3 separate regions of the Homo sapiens genome follow, and regions 1 and 2 are each linked to region 3. The links are contacts of gene promoters, found by promoter capture Hi-C in blood cells and fetal thymus (Javierre and others, 2016). All regions are on one chromosome and are shown on one strand. Each heading gives the region's core, a stretch centred on a gene start or on the middle of the fragment in contact. The rest is flanking DNA. Distances are from core to core; before and after follow the strand shown.

Region 1 (2,700 bases), core at 28-2,527, 4.1 Mb before region 3:
GTTTATTCATCTTTGCCTTCTTGAAGCGTGTGACTATCCCAGTTTTACAGGAAAAGCTTAAACAGAAAAAGTTAAATAATAATCTCAAGGTTAGAAACTAAGACATAATTTCTAGCTCCTAGTATCCCTGGTACTATATTTAGATTGCGCCAATAAATTCTTTAATTGTTAACCATTGCTTCACTCAACTTCGTATCAAAATGCTAGGTGATAATTGCTAAGATACAATTTTATTTTTATTTTTTATTTTTTTGAGACAGGATCTTTCTCTGTCACCCGGGCTGGAGTGTGCACAGTGCACCATCTCTGCTCACTGCAACCTCTGCCTCCCGGGTTCAAATGATCCTCCCACCTCAGCCTCGTAAGTAGCTGGGACTACAGGCACTCGCCACAGCGCCTGGCTAATTTTTTTGATTTGTTTTGTTTTTTGTATTTTTTGTAGAGAAGGGGCCACGCCATGCTGCTCAGGCTCAAGCGATCCGCCCAACTCGGCCTCCCAAACTGCTGGGATTACAGGTGTGAGCCACCTCCACCCCTGTAAATAAACATAAATAAACAATTGTTTCAAGTTACCTCCACTTGACAAGATCACTAACATAAATAGGTTACCTGAGAAACAAAACAAAAAACCCCACCCCAGAAAATGTTCCAGAGGAAATCAGACACACTCTGTATCGTTTCAAATGGAGATTACTTTTAAGTGTATTTAAATTATTCTGAGCTTACAGTGTATGAAATATTTTATAATTTTTGAAATCCACAAATCCAGCATTTGTTTCATTAGTGTTTGATGTTTTTTTGTCAGTAGCATCAATAACAATTTATGTGGCAAGACTAATCACTTAATGAAACTGATATAGGAAATTACTTTCATTCTGATTTTTAAAATGCTGTTTCACTCATTAAAAAACTCAAGTCTGGCGGGACGCGGTGCTCACACCTGTAATCCCAGCACTTTGGGAAACAGAGGTGGGTGGATCACTTGAGGTCAGCAGTTCGAGACCAGCAGTTCGAGACCAGCCTGGCCGACATACAGTGAAACCCCAAACCTCATCTCTACTAAAAACACAAAAATTAGCTGGGCTTGGTGGCGCACGCCTGTAGTCCCAGTTACTTGGGAAGCTGAGGCAGGAAAATCGCTTGAACCCAGGAGATGGAGGCTGCAGTGAGCTGAGATCGCACCACTGCACTCCAGCCCGGGTGACAGAGCAAGACTCCATATCTCAAAAATAAATAAATAAATAAAAATCTTTAAGTGATAACTTTACAACGTCACACACTCACAAAAAAGCGGGGGGGAGTCCAGCTTGCATGAGATTCTATTTTCCCAGAATTATTAATCCTGCTTACAAATACTGCTGACAAAAAAAGAATTTACAGTAATTAGCCTTAAAACTATCAGTGGACACTATTAGGGGAAAATGTCTTTCAGCAAAGCTAGACTTTAATAGTTTTCACTGATTATTATATAAAAACTGATTCGACTTACAAATGAAATACTTCCTATTATGGGTATCTTAGAGAAATTTTTTTATCTCTAAAATAAATCTTTAAAGACCAATTAAGAATGAGTGGGTACTGCAAAGTAGAGAAACTGAGAAATTTCAACAATTTTTAAATATTAAAATTCAAAGGAATGAGACTTTAATTTTGCCACAGGTACTCACCAGACCTATTTACCTAAGTAGGGAGCTTTCACATTGCACATCCTCCTAGACGTCACCACTTGATCTCACAGTTTTTGTTTTTAAGATTATGAACAGCCATCAAATAATTTGTGACAATAAAGTGCATACAGCAACGGAGATTCTTTTGTATGTGATCACGTATCCCCGACATAATAAAGAAAATATTTCAATATTTGGAAGCTAAAAAATAAGTGAAAATGTAATCTACTCAGCTAAAATGGTCAACCATTGTTCTACGTTAAGATCAGTATTTTTCCAAAACGAATTCTCTGTAATGATACACTCACAAGTTAACTCTAAATATGACCTGTGTAAATTGTGTCTTCTTTTTCCTCCTCAAGACAATCAAATCAAAGTCTTCACCAGAGCCAGCAACACTACCTTGAAATTTTAAACCTAAGTGTAAGGCTCGTAATGAAGTGCAAATGTAGTCCCAAACTCTCCGATTTTCACCATGGATGAAATGATTTTCATCACTAGCAAACAGTGTTATTAACATTCCAAATTCTGGTTAGAATGCAGTCACTGGTGAGCAGTGCCCTTGGGCAAGCAAAGAAAAGATTTGAAACTACCCAAAGCACAGATCCACATGAACCTCAGTCTTCTCCCACTTCATCAGGAAGCCAAATAGGAAGGACTCCAAGAAACAGGGGTGAGGGGGTGATCGGGACAGAAAGGATAGTGGAAATCATACTCCTCGAAGGGCGAAAGCAAATGAGAAACGGACTCTGGAAAAACCGCCCCAAAAGGACACTCAACCTGAGACAGATGTACAGGCACAGCTCCTCTACACTAAGGAGATAAAGCTTTACCACAGAAGTGATGCACCAAGCAAGCAAGTATGGGCAGGAGGGGACAACCTCCGCCAAGCACCCCCTCCCGAACGTCTAGCTCAACTAGAAGGGGTCGGCGGGGACTGCTCCTCCGAACATCAACAAAGGCCCCTTCAGTCCTAAGGCGAAACTCGAACAACAAAGGCCCGGAGACAGCCAGGACAGGGCCGGGGCTGGGG
Region 2 (2,700 bases), core at 142-2,641, 3.5 Mb after region 3:
TGGAATGAGATTACACTGCCTGGAGCATTCTGAGTGCTGAATAAATGGTGGTTTCATTCTCAGCTCTCCTTCAGCAATCCTGATCTGACGCTCCTGTGACAGACATTTGTCCACGTAAATACGGTATGTTTTCTGATTCTTCCTAGCAACTTCCTTTATAAGTAATCCACCCATACATTTACATGTTAATTCTAACAGAGTCCATAATAACGAGTGAGCTATTTTAACAGTGTCAGCAGAGACAGATTAAAGAATTGATGAAAAGTAATTCCGTGCAATTTAGGGATTACTCATCTTATTTTCACTAACAGATGACTGCCATCTTGTACAGATGTATTTCGCATACAGAAAATTACATTTAATCACAATATTGTTTGGGTGGGTTAGTCTGTAACTTGAAGTAAAATGTATTGACAGGATAAAATGAAAGCTTTGAAACAGTGCAAAGGTGGAAAAACGAGGTTGAGCGAGAAGCAGGAATTACCAATCTTCATGGTTAGAAGATTCATTAAACGCATTTGCCTTCAAATATTAGATTCTCTACAGAATGGTGGTAAAAAGGCCAGTGAGAAATTAACAATAGTGAGAACACCAGAGTAGTGTTAAACCACCTTGATAATCAGATGGCTCGGAGCAGTTTAAAGCCCTCACGAAAGAGGATTTTTTTTTACCTTCCCTGTCTCCCGCAATTAATGCCATTTCTAAAAGAGAAAATATGTCACACATCAGCGCTCAATAGGCTGACATGCTCCTCAAAACGTTCCTTAAAAAAAAAAAAAAAAAAAAAAAAAAAAAAAAAAAACTTGTGTGCAAATATTTCAGATGCCATTCCACCCCAAACCCGTTCCAAAACCTAAAAATCACTTTCAAGCCAAACTCACGGCTCGTTGGTGATTCACAGCCAGGATCTCGAGGCAGGAACAATAGTGCACTCACCCCGCATCCTCCTGAATCAGCCATTTCGGTAAGAAGATCCAGAAGCACTAGCAGTTTGTTTGTAATTTGTTTACAATTTAAAAGCAAGTTATTTCCCAAAGGAAATCTAAGCAATTGTTAAGTGTTTTACATTACGCAGTCGCCAATTTTACAATTCATATCATGAACCCACTTTGCCCTCCGCCCGCGTCCCTCTCGGAGCCCACGACGCTCAGCAGTCGAGCCCTGGCACCGCACAGCCCGTAGGAGCCTGGAGCGCTCCGCGTTTTGCCCCAATTTCCCTACTTGGGGGTCTCCGCTACAGCTAGAGCGGTCGGCCAATGGAGACCTTCTCCCGCACTCGCCGTCCCGCCTTCCAGTTCCACTGAAGCCAATAAAAAGGGCCGTCTGGAGACAGAAGCCAATGGGAGCTCGGGTAGAGTCATCATGATTGGCTGCGGTCTCTTCGTAGTGCAGTCTAGGCCTCCGCCTCCGTTACCCTGGAGCCCAGGTTACCGCCGCTGCCACCCAGGAGCCCCGATCCTCGCCTCTGTCCCATCCTTGTGTTCAAACCTCCCGCATCTCGGCAACCTCGGCACCCGCCCGGCAGCCTCCGCAGGAACCAGGCACCCGCTCTTTGGCGGTCAGACGCCGAGGCCCCAGCTGGGAGTTTGGTCCTAAGAGGGAAGGCAAGGAGGCGGGACGCCGCATCGGCTCTGCTGAAGAGCCTGCGGGTTGGAGGTGGGCTTTGAAGTGGGCGTGGAGACGGCGGGGGAGGTGGAGGTGCGAGGTGAGGCTGGGTTGAAGCGTCTGGTAGCTAGTGAAGGGGCGTTCGTGGATGGGGGCCTGCGGGTGGTTCTTAAAGCAGGGAAGATGAAGGGATTAGGGATGGGGGAGGATGTAGGGACCGCGAGGAGAAGGAAGACCTAGGAAAATGAGTAAAGAGCTCGGCTTCTGAGAGGGTCCCGAGGAAGGGAGGTTGACCGGCACTGGGGGGACTGGGAAGTTAGGAGGAGAGGAGCTGGGAAAGGGTATTTACTTCCTGGGACCGAGAAGAGAAGAAAGGGAGCAAGCGGATCTAGAGAAGTGGTTGTTATTAAAACAAACAAAACAAAAACCCCGGAGGCCCGTGGAGACTCAAGACTAGAGAGGAGGGGCAGGGCCAAGGGCCAAGACGGAAAAGGAGGCTTTGGTAGCTCTCGGATAATAATAGATGTGTTATTATTAAAACTGTGGTTAGAGTGGAAAGCCGTACTTGTCCAGGCTGTGATACTTCTATACATCCTTCAGGGATGGGATGAGAGGAGTAAAGATGGTTAGAAATAAAAGAAAAAAGAAAGTGCCTTTTTGGCATACTCGAGTTGGAGTCGGTACTCAGATACGTGATGTTTACGTTAGATAGACCGTGGGATAGTGTTTAACAGTGAAGAGCCCTGGTCCAGTTCATCTGATATAAACCCCTTTTTTGTTCACTTTGTTCTTTGGAAAGTATACTTGGGCACATACATATTTATTCCCCTCCTTTATCTTCACGTTAAGAACTTGCATTAGAGATATCTTTGCAATCAGAAGTCATCATTTAGTTTTTGGCAGAGGGAGTGGCTATATGTGTTTTAGAATGGTAAAACCGATGTTTCCAGTTCTTTACTCATTCCCTCTTTCTTTTGCATGGTTATTTTAATCTATGTTTTTTTCCAGTTGTTCCACATTTAAATTCTATATTACCATTTTAAATATTTCACTTTGTGATTTCCCATGTTAGCTAGTATGTTTATCCAAATAAGT
Region 3 (2,700 bases), core at 55-2,554:
AATAGCCTCGGGTACTAAAGGTGGAAGATATGAAGAGTTGAAATCATCATCCTTCAAATAGATGAATTATTTGAGACCAAATAATAGTAAACTTTATTTTTTTAAGTGAGTTGTTGCTTCCATCTATAACTTCAAATTATTGTGATAGATATAATAATTTGTGCATCAACATAATAAACTTTAATCACCCCAAATACTGATTTTAGAAAAATTGTCAAGCTATTATCTTAAAATATATGACAGGATTTATTTATTTAGAATTTATTTATGGTTTAGGCTGGGCATGGTGGCTCACACCTGTAATCTCAGCACTTTGGGAGGCCAAGGTGGGCGGATCTACCAAAAACAGAAAAATTAGCCGGGCATGGTGGCGCGTGCGCCTGTAATCCCAGCTACTCGGGAGGCTGAAGCAGGAGAATCGCTTGAACCCAGGAGGCAGAGGTTGCAGTGAGCCGAGATCGCGCCACTGCACTCCAGCCTTGGCGACAGAGCGAGACTCCGAAAAAAAATAAATAAATAAAAGCAGCTCCTTGTTTTTAAGAAGCCCTATTGTAATTCTACCCGGTCTTATATTTTAATAGTTCTTCATTATAAGTATTTACATTATACCAGGTTCTTTACTGTGTCAAACTTTTCAAAACTATCTTCTGGTAGTAAACTTCTCCAACTTCTCTTAGTTTTTACTTTTGTGAAAGTGAATAGTGGAGCTGTACATACGTAATCATTCTCATCTTCCTTTTTTACCCCCTAAAAAATGGTTAGTCCTGATAGACTTCAGCCACACTCTTCTGCATTAGGTAACAAAGAACTTCCTTATATTTTTGCACCTGTTTCAATTTTGGAGCTATCCTGTCTAAGTTGAGAAGCAATGGCAAGTCAATTCTTGAAAATTTTGTCGCTTTAGATAGAGGCTAACAAACGACCCTTGTTCATAAAGAGACCAAGATAAAGTGGGTTTGGGGCCGGGAATTCTGTTCTTGCATCTCCTGGGGACAAAGCCCACCTGTAACACTTGCCTCCATCATCTCCCTCCCTTCGAGCTAGCCAAAGGTGTGAACCCTGGGTCTGATTTTTATGGTCATTTCCAGGGATGCTAACGCGCCAAGTCACGCTCATAAGAAGCAGAGTGGGGCGATAGCTAGCCTCTCGCCGCCCACCTTTCTCAGCACTCTGGGCCAAAGCCTGGTTTTGAAAATGCGCGCCCCGCCCCGGCCTCCGGGGTCACGCGCCTTCTCGGTGGTGCACTCTCCGGCCGGCAGGTGGCGCTGTGAGCTGGTAGGCGGCGCCAGCCCTGCGATCTGGCACAGGCGCCTGCGCCGCAGCGGGGCTGCCGCTGGTTGGTCCGCACGTGGAACCTCTCCTGGTCCTGTTGACCCGGGCCCCTCGGAACCTCCAGCTTGGTCCGGTCTGGGACTGGAAGCCTGCCATGGCGGCTTCTGCGGCGGAGACGCGCGTGTTTCTGGAGGTGCGGGGACAGCTGCAGAGCGCGCTTCTGATCCTGGGGTAAGAACTGGGATTCTAGGCGCAGTGCCCAGCTCGCTTTACTGCTGCCCGGGGGTCGGGGGCTGGTGAGTCTCTCTCTGTACGAGGGATTTTGAGTTTCTTCTTTCCAGTTGCGTAGAGCCTCTCGATCACTCAAAGTGAAGCTTTCCCCTGTAGTCGGCTCCGCCACTCCCACCCCTACTGACAGTGTGGGTATCTTTGGGGAGCTTTTTAGAAATTCAGGGTCTCAGCTCCACACCAGACTTATGGAATCAAAACTTATATTTTAACAAGATTTCCAGGAATCAAATGCACATTAAAATTTGAGGAACAGTGATGTAAAACACTGTTGGCAGTGCCCGGCGTTTCCAACAAAACAATGCAAAAAATGATTTGTCTGTCTCTCTTCGGGATCCTCCTTACTGGATCAGTTCCTATGTGAGCTTCTTGTTTTGTAAATAACCTCGGGTCTTTTCGTCCAAAACTGCTCTTTGCAGAGAAACCACACAATCATTCAATAAACGTGAGTTTAGTGAACCACTAAGACAGGTTGTAGACTTCTTACTGGAGCTCGTTCATTTATTCATATTCTTCCTTCCAGTGAGAACGTCAAACTTGTTATTCGCTACACAAATAACTTTTAGGAAAAATGTTCTCTATTTTGTTTGACAGCAGTTTTAATGATTTGTGGTCCCCTTGTCTATTCCTTTGTGATCGCTGTTTCAAAGAGAGTAAGTTAGAAGTTAAAATCCTGAGAATGGTATTACACGGTGCCACAGGTAGATTGATGCTTAATTTTTTCCTCTTCCCTAAATCTGCCAGATATCTGGTGTGGCAATTTGGAATATGGCGTGAGAACTGAGTTCAAATGCTAGCTTCCTCACGAAATTAGAATAATTTAATCTGAATTTCTTCAATCTTGAAATGGGAATAATAGTACTCTGAATGTATTTCTTTTTCTCTTTCAAAATTTATGAATTTGGACAAATATCTCCAATTCTGGTGCACCTTGTAGAGTAATTAGGAACCCAAACCCTACCAAAATAAAACAAAAACCACACACACACAACAAACCCTCCCTTCCTCTCATGCAGGGGCCTTTCACAGTTCCCTTGGACTACTCTCCTTTGTTTAGGCAAGGTACCCGGGTGGCTCATGCCTGTAATCCCAGCACATTGGGAGGCTGAGGCGGGCGGATCACGAGGTCAAGAGATCAAG

The links. Contacts are between HindIII fragments. The CHiCAGO score rates a contact against its expected background, and 5 or more counts as called.
Region 1: a contact is called between a fragment that was not itself captured here and the fragment with the promoter of UBE3D in region 3, in 1 of 17 cell types (total CD4 T cells). The highest score is 7.3, in total CD4 T cells.
Region 2: the fragment with the promoter of LCA5 here is called in contact with the fragment with the promoter of UBE3D in region 3 in 1 of 17 cell types (activated CD4 T cells); the score reaches 6.0 in activated CD4 T cells.

The regions. Positions count from the first base shown.
Region 1 is chr6:87,156,230-87,158,929 of GRCh38, reverse strand. The region is part of intron 1 of ZNF292 (zinc finger protein 292); the gene reads right to left. Among named protein-coding and RNA genes, the nearest start is that of ZNF292, 2.0 kb to the right of the region's middle. RefSeq lists an enhancer at 1,939-2,546. The HindIII fragment of the contact is 2,438 bases long and covers 59-2,496 here.
Region 2 is chr6:79,536,121-79,538,820 of GRCh38, reverse strand. It overlaps LCA5 (lebercilin LCA5), which reads left to right and starts at 1,391. Exons shown (of 8, transcript NM_001122769.3): 1 at 1,391-1,656. It also overlaps a transcript of SH3BGRL2 not described here. RefSeq lists enhancers at 1-347, 878-927, 922-1,495. The HindIII fragment of the contact is 3,782 bases long and covers 433-2,700 here.
Region 3 is chr6:83,064,445-83,067,144 of GRCh38, reverse strand. UBE3D (ubiquitin protein ligase E3D) reads left to right here and starts at 1,304. Exons shown (of 10, transcript NM_198920.3): 1 at 1,304-1,503. The coding sequence starts at 1,427. The HindIII fragment of the contact is 10,412 bases long and covers 1-1,648 here.